Regions from separate parts of the Homo sapiens genome. Here all the other regions are linked to region 1. Evidence: promoter capture Hi-C in 16 types of primary human blood cells and fetal thymus (Javierre and others, 2016). All regions are on one chromosome and are shown on one strand. The core of a region is centred on a gene start or on the middle of the fragment in contact, and the rest is flanking DNA. Distances in the headings are between cores, read along the strand shown. Region 1 holds the start of CD79A (CD79a molecule). Region 2 holds the start of MAP3K10 (mitogen-activated protein kinase kinase kinase 10). Region 3 overlaps LTBP4 (latent transforming growth factor beta binding protein 4).

Region 1 (3,933 bases), core at 766-3,265:
TCACGGCGCACGCGGAGGTAGGTGCCGCAGGACTGCTGGTATGACTCGTTGCCCTCCTGGACCCGGCACACGTATATGCCCCCATGGCTCTTGTTCACATTCTGGATGATCAGCGTACCATTGGGGTCCTCGCCCGGGCCCAAGAACTCAGGGGGCCACGTGTAGTTGCCATGGAGGACGCGCCACCAGGTGACGTTGGCGTTGTTGCTGCTATTGTGCGGGCATTGGAAGTGGGCGTCTTCCCCCAGGCTCACCATCAATGATGCTGGGACCTTGTGCATCCACAGGGCCTGGCACCCAGGGCCTGTGGAGAGACAGGGTGGGTGGGTCAGGGACTGGGGATGGTGACACATTTCCCCAGCCCTGGCCCCTGCAGTTCCAGCACTCCTGGGAAGAGGGTGAGGACTCTCCTGGGTGGGGAGGGAGAGAGAGAGCCCCTGACAGGGGCTGATACATCCTGGGGAGAGGGGGGATGCGGGAAAGTGAAGAAGCCCCTGGGAAGGAGAGAGGACATACCTGGTTGGGGTGGGTGAGGATATCCTGGGAGAGGAGAATGAGACTCCCTGGGATGGTAAGACCCCTGGGAGGCCCTTCTCACCTCTGCAGCGCCATCTCTTGCCCCCCTCCCGCATACCCACTTTGTACTCTGGCCCTGTGAACTCTCTGGATTTTGGATGTTTGTTCCAGGCACTGGAGGACCGCTGTCCAGACAGCTCCTTCCAGAAGCAGTGCAGGCGTCCCCTCCTCCCGCAGCCTTCCCGGTCCATTTTTGCACCCCAGCCTCAGCCAGGCCCAGCACCTGGCGCTTTTTCTTGTGTAATCATTCACAGAACCCTAGAAGTAGGTTCTCTCCTTAGCCCCATTTTACAGGAGGGATGGCTGAGGCTCTGGGAGGGCAGGCGGGTTGCCAGCATCACCAGGCAGTCAGGAGTGGCACTGGGTTCAAACTCTTGGCTCCCTGGCCTCTCCCTGCCTGGGCTGAGGAGCCAGTCTGTGGCCTGCCCTGGCCTGTGACCCTGTGCCTGGCCCTCATTCTCTGTAAGTTGTATGTGTCAACCTAGGGGTCAGGGGTGAGTTCAGTCCTTGGGCTGGGCTGCTGGTGATTGAAGGGGCTCAGAGCGGGGTGGAGACTGGGGGTGTCTCTGAGTGAGACGAGGCGGCTCAGGCTGGCTGCAGTGTCCAATCCGGGCTCCTCTGGGAAGCCCCAGCTCTCAGCCAGGCCTCCCACATGGCCAGTCCCCTCTTCTGGAGGTAGGTGGAGGAGGGAGGTGAGGAAGAGAGAAGGAGGAAGAGATGGGGAGAGGGGCCGAGCACCCTCATCGTCACGGGCTTAAGACTCAGACGTGAACTCCAATCCTTGCTCCCAGTGTCCCCTTGGGTGGGGAACCTTTTTCTCTGAACTCCTGGGTTAGCGTGGCCACAGCCCCTGCCAGCTGTCCTTGAGCAGGTGAGGGGGAGTCCATGAGACACCCATTCCCCCAGTGCTGAGAAGGGACTCCCAACAGAGAGAGGCACCTGAGGTTTAAGGCAGAGAAAGCTTTTTCTCCCCTTGACAGACGCTGAATGCTGCTACCCCTAAGTCCCCTTCCTGCCCCCAGCCCTGGTGCTCAGTCAAGAGCAACTTTAGTTCCTTATTTTGGCCTGTGGGGAACAGGAGGTGGGGGAGGTGACTCTTGCTCCTGCCTCCCTGTGTGAGACTGTGGACGCCCCTTCTCCTTCGCTGGGCTCCCTCCAGCCCCACCTTGGCCCATCTTGGCACAGATACGATTTCTATAGGCATCTTCCCTGGGTCCCCTATCCTCTGCCTCCTCTTCCCCTTTCCCTGAGCCCCCTTCCCTCTGCCTGTGCCCTCTCTGCAGCCTCCACAGCTTCCCCCACCTCCCGCCAGTTCCTGCCCTTTGGCCACATACCCAGGTAGACAGCAGACAGCAGGAAGAGGAGGAAGATGGTGGCAGGCAGAGCTTGGAGGACTCCTGGACCCCCAGGCATCTTCTCCCAGTGGGTTGGTTAGTTTGAGTTGCAGCAGTCCCAGGGTACCAGATCCCTACCCCAAACCCCACCCTACTTCCTGCCCAGCCCCCCGGAGATGGGCTCCAGTGGCCCTCGCTACTGGGCCCTTTGCTTGTTGGGCCTGGGGACAGCCCCTGCCGGGTATGCTTCAGGCTGTGAGTGGAGAGAAACTGCTCCCTGCACCTGTGGTGGCCACAATTCCCCTGAGAGGTGGCTGCTTGGGTGGGGGAAGAGGCTGGTTCAAGGGCTGGCTCGTCACTGCTGAGCCTTTGGAAGGAAGCCTAGGGAACCTGAGTCCTGGGCATGTGTCATGGGCAGGTGATGGTTCTGAGCTTGACCTCTCCCCCTGCCTGGACTTGGGCAAACCTTGTCCCTTCCCTGACCCCATTTCCTTGCTTCTTGGGATTAGAAACAAGGACTTAAAGGGGTTGTCACATGCACAGAAATGGCCCACAGTAGGCGCCCAGTAAATGTTAGTCACTATAAATACTCATGAAGAATAAATAAGGCAGGCTGACCTGTGGCTGACTACCCGTGTGACTAGGTGGGCACTTTGATCCTTCGAAGCTTGACATTTTTCATCTGTGAGATGAGGACCAGAATGTCTCCCTGTCTCATTATGTGATACGAGATGGTGTTCCTGGTATTCAAGGAGTGAGAACCATGATCAGCTCTTTACTGGAATTCTTTTTTTAAAAAAACAGGCCAGCTATGGTGGCTTATGCCTGTAATCCCAGCCCTTTGGGAGGCTGAGACAGGAGAATCACCTGAGGTCGAGTTTGAGACCAGCCTGGCCAACATGGCGAAACCCCATCTCTACTAAAAATACAAAATTAGCCAGATGTTGTGGCACATGCCTATTATTCCAGCTACTCAGGAGGCTGAGGCAGGAGAATCAGTTGAACCCAGGAGGTGGAGGTTGCAGTGAGCTGAGATCACACCATTGCACTCCAGCCTGGGTGACAAAAGCGAAACTCTGTCTCTAATAATAACAATAATAACAACAACAACATATATTTTTCTTCTTTTTTTTTTTTAAGAGGGATGGGATCTTGCTATATTGCCCAGGCTGGTCTTGAACTCCTGGCCTCAAGCAATCCTCCTGCCTCAGCTTCCCAAAGTGCTGGGATTACAGGCATGTGCCACTGTGCACAGCCAGAAGTTGTTTTATATTGACCTGCCATGACTGGCAAGGTAGGCCATCCCCCATTTTACAGAGGGGGAAACCGAGGCCAGAGAGGGGAGGTTGTCACTTGCGGGTGTCATACAGTCTAGGGGTGGTGGACAGAGATTCAAAGTCATCTTTGTGTTGCTCCCAGTTTCCTTTGAGCATGTCTGGTAGGAGGGAAATGAGGTCTGAGTGGGGAGGGCGGAGTTGCTGAGATATTTGTGAGCAGTTAGGGGACCCTCACACACATACAAGGGGATATATAAAATAAATTTATTGCAGGGAGATTTTTGGTAGCAAACATTGAGAAGCAAATGAAAAGTCCATTTGTGGGAGAATGGGTGCATACACTGTGGCAAAGTGAGCCAACAGAATGCTACAGAATAGGGGAAGGTGTCATAAGGCTGTCTCAGAAACAGCACAAACATCAGAAAAAATATCGTAGCATGATACAGTTGACTTGTTTTCAAAAGGCGTCCGCTGCTTAGGGACACACGTTTGTAGCAGAGGTGTAGACCCGTGCAGGGGAGTGGCAAACGCCCAGTTCCTGGGAGGGGTTACCTCTGGGGGACGCCAGGGTTGGGTCTGGGGAGGGACACACAGAGACACAGAGAGCTCATCTTGTCTTGGTTTTATTTCCTGTGTTACTTTTTTTTTTTTTTTTTTTGAGACGGAGTCTCGCTTTGTCACCCAGGCTGAAGTGCAGTGGCGTGATCTTGGCTCACTGCAACCTCTGCCTCCCAGGTTCAAGTGAT
Region 2 (3,933 bases), core at 421-2,920, 1.7 Mb after region 1:
CAACTTTGGAGAACCTATCAGGCAGCCTGGAAGCTTTTATATAAGCCACATCAATTTAATTCCTCCCTCATCTTTTCCAGTTTGCCTTGGCCAGCTCGGCCTATGAAGACTCCAGGAAATGGTTCTCAACTGGGGGTGATTCTGCCCCCCAGGGGACATTTGCAATGCCTGGAGACACTTTTGGTTGTCATAGCTGGGGAGAGGGGGCAGGGAATGCTAATGACATCTAGTGGGAAGAGGCTAAAGATGCCGCTAAGCAACTCACAATTTACAGGACAGCCCCTACAACAATGATCTGGCCTCAAGTGCCAATAGTGCTGGGGTTGAGAGACACTGACTCCAGACGGGGTAGGCTCTTTTTGTCTCTGCCTGGTGGACTCTGGCAGCATGGCTGGATGGCAAGCACCTTGAAGGCAGGCACTGCATCTGTCCTGTTCATGCAGGGAACGCAGGTGTTCATGGATACATGTTTACTGAGCGATTGTGACTCTGCAGCCTGGGAGGCAGGTAAGTCCTTCAACCTTTCTGAGCCTCCTTTTTCTCCCTTAAGGCAGGCAAGGCCTACCTCACCTTCACCCTGAAGGTATCATACTGCTGCCCCTTCTCACTCCAGGCACAGTGTCATCTGGTGTCCCTCACCCTGTTTCCCACCACCTAGGCCTGGCCTTGAGAGGTTCTGTGGAAGGAATTTTGGGGAGAGGACACCACTTACTGTTGATGGACTTGAGGTCCCGGTGGATGATGGGCACAGGGGCATCATTGTGTAGGTAGTTCATGCCCCGGGCCACCTGCACAGCCCAGTTGACCAGCACGTGAGGTGGCACCCGGCGACCTGCCAGCACCCTGCTCAGTGCACCACCCCGGGCATACTCCATCACTAGGCAGAGGTGTGGGGGGTTGAGGCAGGCGCCCCTAAGGGCAATTATGTTGGGGTGCTGCAGGGCTCCAAAGAGCCGGGCTTCCTGGCACACCTGCTCCGCTGTCACTGCCGGGTCCTTCTCAGGGTCCAGCCGGGCGGCCTTGACTGCCACCTCCTCGCCACGCCACAGGGCCCGATAGACCTTGCCAAAGCCCCCCACACCGATGATCTCCTCTAGCTGCAGCTCGTGGAAGGGGATCTCCTGGGGCAGCTGGAGGCCCGCGGGTGCAGCGGGGGCGCCGGGGGCCACGTAGTTGCTGGGGAAGACGCCCACGCGGCCGCTGGGGAGCTGCCCGGTCCACCAGCCCTCGTCGCCGGACACCGCACAGTCTTGGGAAAGCACCTGGACGCGATCGCCCCTCCGCAGGGTCAGCTCCTCGTCGCCCGCCGCCTCGTAGTCGAACACCGCGGTCCAGACGGGCCCCGCGGGGGTCGTGCCCCACTCCTTGGCCACCGCCCCCTCCTCCTCCTCCATGGGGGAGGGGCCGGGGGCTGCGGGAGGCCGCTTCACACAGGCTGCCCGCGGGATGCAGAGGGCGGGCCCCGGCGGCCGGGATGGAGGGCAGTCCCTGCGGGGTCTAGGGAGCTCCTGAGGGCCATGGCTGGGGCGCCCTCCGCAGGAGCAAGAAAAAAAACCCTTTCAAAGGGCAGGCTCGTCCCTTCCGATTTGGCTGTACGGGCGGGGCGGGGCGGGGTGGGAGTGGGGCGGCAGGTTCACCCGTGCCCCCCAAACGGCAGAGGGCTAAGAGGGCCTGGCCGCGCGGCTCTCGAATGCCCGCCGGGGTCCGCCGGTGGGGGACGAGGGCGAGGGCGGCAGGCAGTCCCCGTTCCCCGCGCCGCTCACCCCGCGCAGCTCCACCGGCGGCCCCCGGCTCCGCATCCCGGGCCACGACTGCCGGGCCGGGCGGGGGTGGCGGGGCCCCTGGGGCGGCCGCCCCGGGCCGGGGTGGCGCGCCCCTCGGCCTCCTCACGCGCGGGGCAGCCGGGCGGCCCCCATCCTTGGCACCGGCCTCCCGGTCGGCCCCAGCCCCTGCCCCCCGCCCGTGCTGCTTCCCCGGGCCACCGGCGGGGCCCGAGTGACGTGTGGGCGCCGCCGCCGCGGTGCCTCCTGGGAGTTGTAGTCTCCGGCCGTGCGGCCTCGGGGCCCGGCTCTCAGCGCCCTCCAGCAGAGCCCCGCGGCCAGCCTCGGGCCGCAATGGACATGACACCCCACGAAGCCGAAGGAGTCCTCCCGGGGAGATGAGCCCGGCCTCGGCCCCTCCTTCGGACGCGGCGTAGCGGGCGCCCGGGGCGGGGGGAAGCGCTCCTCACAGACCCTGTGGGGGCCGCGGCCCAGGATGGGTTGGACTGCAACGGACGCGATTAGCAACGCGAAAAATAGGAGCTGCGTGCATGACTGTGACTGCCCGGAGCCGCGAACGCAGCCTGGACCTTATCCCTGAGGCAGGACGGCCCCTCGGACCCCCCGACCGAGATGTACGCTGGGAACTGTAGTCCGCGCGGGGACCTGGCGCTGCAGGGGGCGGCCCCCAAACAGCGGGCTGCGGGCGTCGGCGGGTGGTTGGAGCAAGTTAGGGGTCGGGCCGGTGGCGGGACTCTGCGGGGAAGATGGGGCTGGGAGGATGTGTTTAGTGTCCCTGGGGATGTCACAGCCACGTCTGCTTTCCCCACCAGCTCTGGGTTCCTCTGCTGAAGTCAGAACTCCTGCTCTTGAGAATCCCCGATTCCTATTTTATAGGAGTTTCAATTTCGGGGAGCTTAATGTGCATGTTGTATTCAGTGCTTTGTACACGTGGTATCGTTAAGTCTTCACAAAGAGCCCCATTTTACAGATGACTCATAGAGAAGTGAAGTCATTTGTGCAAGGCTACAGAGCTATAAATGGCAAAGCAAAAATGAAAGGCAGTTTTAAAAATTAACAACCAGGCCGGGCGCGGTGGCTCACGCCTGTAATCTCAGCGCTATGGGAGGCCAAGGCGGGCGGATCACGAGGCCAGGAGTTCGTGACCAGCCTGGCCAGCATGGTGAAACCCCCGTCTCTACTATTTAAAAAAAAAAAAAAAAATTAGCCGGGCGTGGTGGTGTGCGCCTGTAATCTATCCCAGCTACTCGGGAGGCTGAGGCAGGAGAATCGCTTGAACCTGGGAGGTGGAGGTTGCAGTGAGCCAAGATCACGCCACAGCACTCCAGCCTGGACGACAGGGCAAGACTCCGTCTCAAAATAAATAAATAAATAAATAACCATCGCCACGATTAACAAAAACAACAACAACAAAAAAAAAAACAACAAAAAACAAACAAACAAAAAACCCACTGCCTTTCTATTTAAAGAATGAGGAAAGTAGGTCCCGCAGAGGTTCAGTGACTTCTTCAAGATCTCTAAGCTTGTAAGAGGCAAAATTCTGGGTCTTTTTACTTGGCCTCTCCTGAGTGGTATGGGGTCTAGAGGGAGGAGAGAAGAAGAGGAAATAAGAGGGACTCTAGTGCCCAAACTCCAGAGAACTGCCCCTCAGGGTCCTTGGGGAATTGTTCCATTGTCAGAGGGAAGTGGGTTACCTGGTCTCCTGGCTACCTAGCAGGGACACTCGGAGCATATCAAAAATGCTTGTTGGAAGAGAGAGCCCCAGCTTCATTCTGAGTATAAGTGTTTCTGCTATAACCTGCTATATGCATTCTTAAAAAACCTTCAGTTCTTCAAAACGGTGCACTAAAATTAACAAGACTTCATGGAAAAAATAGAGTTAGAGACAGATTGCTCAAAATATATGCAACTAGCTGGGCACGGTGGCTCATGCCTGTAATCCCAGCACTTTCAGAGGCCGAGGAGGGAGAATTACTGGAGTCCAGGAGTTTCAGACTAGCCTGGGCAACATAGGGAGACTCCGTCTCTACAAAAAAATAAAAAATTAGGCGGGTGTGGTGGTGTGCACCTGTGTTCCCAGCTACTCGGGAGACTGAGGTATAGGGGTATTACCTGAGCCCAGGAGGTCGAGGCTACTGTGAGCTGTGATTGT
Region 3 (3,933 bases), core at 963-3,462, 1.3 Mb after region 1:
TGGGATTACAGGCATGAGCCACAGCTCCTGGCCTGCTGTATAAATCTTGAATTTATTTACATATTTATTACCCCACAATAACTCCAGGAAGGCAGGGGTTTTTATATGACTTATTTCCTGTTGCTCTTATTACCTTTTCCAGACGCTGGCATAGAGTAGGTGCTTAGTGAATTCTTGTGGAATTAATGAATGAGATCTTATGAAGCTAGATTTCCATGAGTCAGAGGTCTAGCAGAGTCAACGGCAGCCCACAGATGTTTTGTTTCATGTGTTCCACAAGATGCGGACTCACACACCATCACCGCCCCCCCCCCCCCGCCGACACAAAAAAATATATACTGTATGGAAGATTAGCCCCACCCTCCTGCCTCGCTGGAGCCTGACCCGGGAGGGGTGAAAGAGCGGGGCGGGAGGGAAGGCCTGGAAAGTAAGAAAAGGCAAGGGGCGGGTCTGTGGGCGGAGCAAAGATAGGAAGGGAGGGCCTAAGTGTTCGAGAGACTGGAGCCATCCGAGCGAATGGAAAGCCCTGTCTAGAGAGACCAAGGAAGGGCAGAGCTTAAACGGGCGGGGGCCAATGCTAGGAGAATTTCACCTTGGGAATTTCTCATTGGGAAAGAATGGGGCCTAGGGCCACCGGGATTGGGCCTCTTTGGAGGGAAGGCTGGAAGTAGGACTGGTGGAGGGCGCGGAAAGGGCACGTCCAAACTTCTGTTAGGAAGAGAAGGGGCCTGAAGAGGGGGTTTTAATCCAGAGGCCGATTGGAAGGGGCGGGGCCTAACAGTTTTGGGGCGGTGTCTTACTGGGGGCATAGCCTAAAATGTGGACCGGGCTTCAGCTGCAGAGGGGGAATGGACTGCGGCTGGAAGGGAGGCTTGGCCGTGATCCTGACACAAGAAAATACATGGACACGGTGGCGGCTTATTTCCACTACAGAGATACGGTGAGAGGGTGTTCTTTCCCTCCGCCTAAGTCTGGGAAGCAGGGCGCCCCTCCTCAGTCCCCAAGGGAGCAGCCTCCAGCACCGCGTTGCAAGCGCTAGCGAAGGCGGGTGGGGGCAGGCTCACCGTCACAGGTGCCCTCGGGGCCCGCGTGGTACCCAGGATCGCAGTCCCGGACACAGCGGTAGGAGCCGGGAGAGTTCTCACAGCGCTGCGACCCGCACAGGGCTGGGCCTCGCTCGCGACATTCGTCCACGTCTGAGGAGAGAGGTCGGGTGGTCGGATGTGGGAAGCAGGGAGGCAAGATGGGGGATACAAAGAGGGGAGAGGAGAGTCAGAAGGGGGAGGCCGGGGAAGCAGAGGAGAGGGCAGGAGAAGATTGGGGTAGAGGAGAGTTGGGGAGGCTAGGAGAGGAGGCGGGGGAAAGAGGTAAGGGGAGGGGAGAAGCGGAGGAGGAAAGACAGAGGTGGGAGGCCAATCGGCGAGTCGGGGAGTCGAAGGGAGGAGGGATCAGGCCGGGGCGGGGCCTCTCACCGAGGCAGGAGGCGAGGTCCGGGCCAGCGCGGTGTCCCGGAGGACAGATGCACTCGAAGGAGCCGTCGGTGTTGGTACAGATGCCGCTCTGGCAAAGGTCCTCCTCGCTGCACTCGTCAACGTCTGCGGGACAGGGCGTCCGAAGGCCCGGCCCACCTCCCGCTCCGCCTAACATTCTAGGCCACACCCCTCCACCGCCCCTCGGCTCTCCTAGGCCTCTCACGCCTTCCCCAACCTGCCTCACGCTACTTCCCTCCCTGCAAACACCGCCCCCCGACGGGTTTAGAACAGCTTCTTTACAATCACGGTCCAAATACCCAGACTCGGCCCTTTCATCTCCACGCCCCGCCCCCCCTCACTGCCTCGAGACTCCCACCAGCTGCCCCCTGATCCTGCTGGAATACCCCGGCTAAAAACTCGTTTTCCCCTTTTCGCCCTCTTCTCCCCGTCCCGCCTTTTCCTGCCCTAAGCCCACCCTTTCCGGGGCCAGGATCAGCCCGGGTACGAACCGAGGCAAGAGGCTCCGCGGGGTCCGGGTCGGTAGCCAGGGGCACAAGTACAGGCAAAGGAGCCGTCAGTGTTGAGGCACTCGCCGTGAGGGAAGCAGAAATCGCCCTCCAGGCACTCGTTCACGTCTAGGGTACGCGGGAGATTGGGCGGAGTCACGGGACCCGGCCTCCCAGACAAGCTCCGCCCACATCGCAGTAACCCCGCCCCCACCAATGCCAGGTTTCTAAGCTCCTCCCACAGCGCCTTGGTCCCGCCTCCACCTTTCCAGCCGGCTTTGCCCTGGAACCCAGGCCCTACTCCCAGACTCTCTGGCGGGTCCCTATGCTGCTCACCTGCGCAGGGCCCGGGCCGACCCGACGGCGCCCGGTAGCCTGGCGCGCAGCTGCAGCGGAAGGAGCCTTCGGTGTTAGTGCAGTGGCCGTGGGGACCACAGGGAGGGGCACCCGAACTGCATTCGTCCACATCTGTGGGGGGTGGGGGTGTTCAGAAAGGGTCCAGTCTCGGGACACACCCGACCAATCCCCTTGGAGTAGGGTGTCTGGGGGAGGTGGTGGGAAGTCTCATGAGTTGGAGGCTGGGGGAGGGCTCTATGGCAGAGGTGGGTAGGGCTGACCAAGGTTCTCGGGTTCCGGGGACCATGGTTGCAAGTCCTGTGGGTCTAGGTTTCTAGGAACTACCTGTGCCAGGATTTTGGAGTCAGGAGAGGGATCAGACAGGGATCAGAAATCAACTAGGGCAAGGGACCAGTCAAGTATTATAAACTAGGATCATTGGATGGGATTCGGCTGAGCCATGGGTCAGAGTTAGTGACTGGAATCTGAATCCAGTTAGGATCAGAAGTTATAGTCAGGGTCCAGAATTCTGCCTCAAGTCAGGGGCCAGGGTCAGGGATTATGAACCCAACCAGGTTCCAGAGAAGGGATTCTGAGAAGAGGCAGGGGCTGTGAAAGAGATAGGACCAAGAGTCACACAGTCAAGGTTATGGTCAGTGCTATGGTTAGTGGTTATGATTAGGGTCAAATGTCACAGTCAAATTCAGGAGTTATAGGTCACATTCAGGGCCAGAGTCATGAGGGTCACAATTGCTATCAGGGTATGGGCAGGGACTATCATCAAGGGTGATGGTTAGGGTCAAATGTTACTGTCAAGTTGGGTCTCAGGAGTCACATTCAGGGTCAAGAGTTGTGGTCCAGGTCAGGGTCAGGAGTCACAGGCTCTGGGGACTGAGGGACTGAGGTCCAGGTCAGGAGGTTACGGCCAGGTCATAGTTGTGATCTGGGTCAAGGGTCGGGGGTCATGATGCAGGCCCAAGGTCACAGCCAGGGCCTGGTCTCACCAGTGCATCTGCCACGGTGCAGGTGGTGGCCAGAAGGACAGGTCCTGCACTGGAAGGAGCCGGGCGAGTTCACACACTCCTGCCCAGGGCATGCGAGGTGGTTCTCACACTCATCCACATCTGGGGGGCAGGGGAGAGGGTGGCCTTGAAGAAGTGGTCCAACTCCCCCCTCACCCATCCACACTCCTCCCTCCCTCCCCGGCCTCACCCTCGCACTCGGAGCCAGCAGTGTTGGGTTGGAAGCCCATGGGGCAGACACACTGGAAGCTGCCTTCTGTGTTCTCACACCGGCCGTAGGTGCAGGGTGGGGGGCTTCGGGCACACTCATCCACATCTGGGGCAGAGGGGACCAATGAGGCTGAGGAAGGGGCCTGAATCCATTCCCATGGCCATCACCACCCACCCCAGCATTCCAGTCTTGAGCCTGCCTTCTGGACTTGCCTCAGGCTGCTCCCTCTTCCCAGGAAGACAGACACCTTCCTCGTGTCCCCATTCAATGGTCTCTCCAGCTACTAAGGTGGGGGCTAAGGCACCAACTCCATGTTGCCTGCCCTGCCTCAGGTGACCCCCTCCTCAGGGTTCCCATAAGCACAAGAGTATCTTTCAAAAAGGGAG

The links. Contacts are between HindIII fragments. The CHiCAGO score rates a contact against its expected background, and 5 or more counts as called.
Region 2: a contact is called between a fragment that was not itself captured here and the fragment with the promoter of CD79A in region 1, in 1 of 17 cell types (total B cells). The highest score is 5.5, in total B cells.
Region 3: a fragment that was not itself captured here is called in contact with the fragment with the promoter of CD79A in region 1 in 1 of 17 cell types (non-activated CD4 T cells); the score reaches 5.3 in non-activated CD4 T cells.

The regions. Positions count from the first base shown.
Region 1 is chr19:41,875,361-41,879,293 of GRCh38, reverse strand. CD79A (CD79a molecule) reads right to left here and starts at 2,015. Exons shown (of 5, transcript NM_001783.4): 1 at 1,911-2,015; 2 at 5-304. The coding sequence starts at 1,989. RefSeq lists a silencer at 1,814-1,873 and an enhancer at 3,281-3,350. The HindIII fragment of the contact is 1,040 bases long and covers 1,540-2,579 here.
Region 2 is chr19:40,189,493-40,193,425 of GRCh38, reverse strand. It overlaps MAP3K10 (mitogen-activated protein kinase kinase kinase 10), which reads right to left and starts at 2,000. Exons shown (of 10, transcript NM_002446.4): 1 at 713-2,000. The coding sequence starts at 1,394. RefSeq lists silencers at 1,303-1,602, 1,873-2,372 and an enhancer at 2,533-2,772. The HindIII fragment of the contact is 3,270 bases long and covers 36-3,305 here.
Region 3 is chr19:40,611,578-40,615,510 of GRCh38, reverse strand. It overlaps LTBP4 (latent transforming growth factor beta binding protein 4), which reads right to left. Exons shown (of 30, transcript NM_001042545.2): 14 at 3,527-3,652; 15 at 3,319-3,438; 16 at 2,315-2,446; 17 at 1,982-2,107; 18 at 1,473-1,595; 19 at 1,065-1,196. Among named protein-coding and RNA genes, the nearest start is that of LTBP4, 12 kb to the right of the region's middle. RefSeq lists enhancers at 558-837, 1,059-1,606. The HindIII fragment of the contact is 5,733 bases long and covers 1-3,933 here.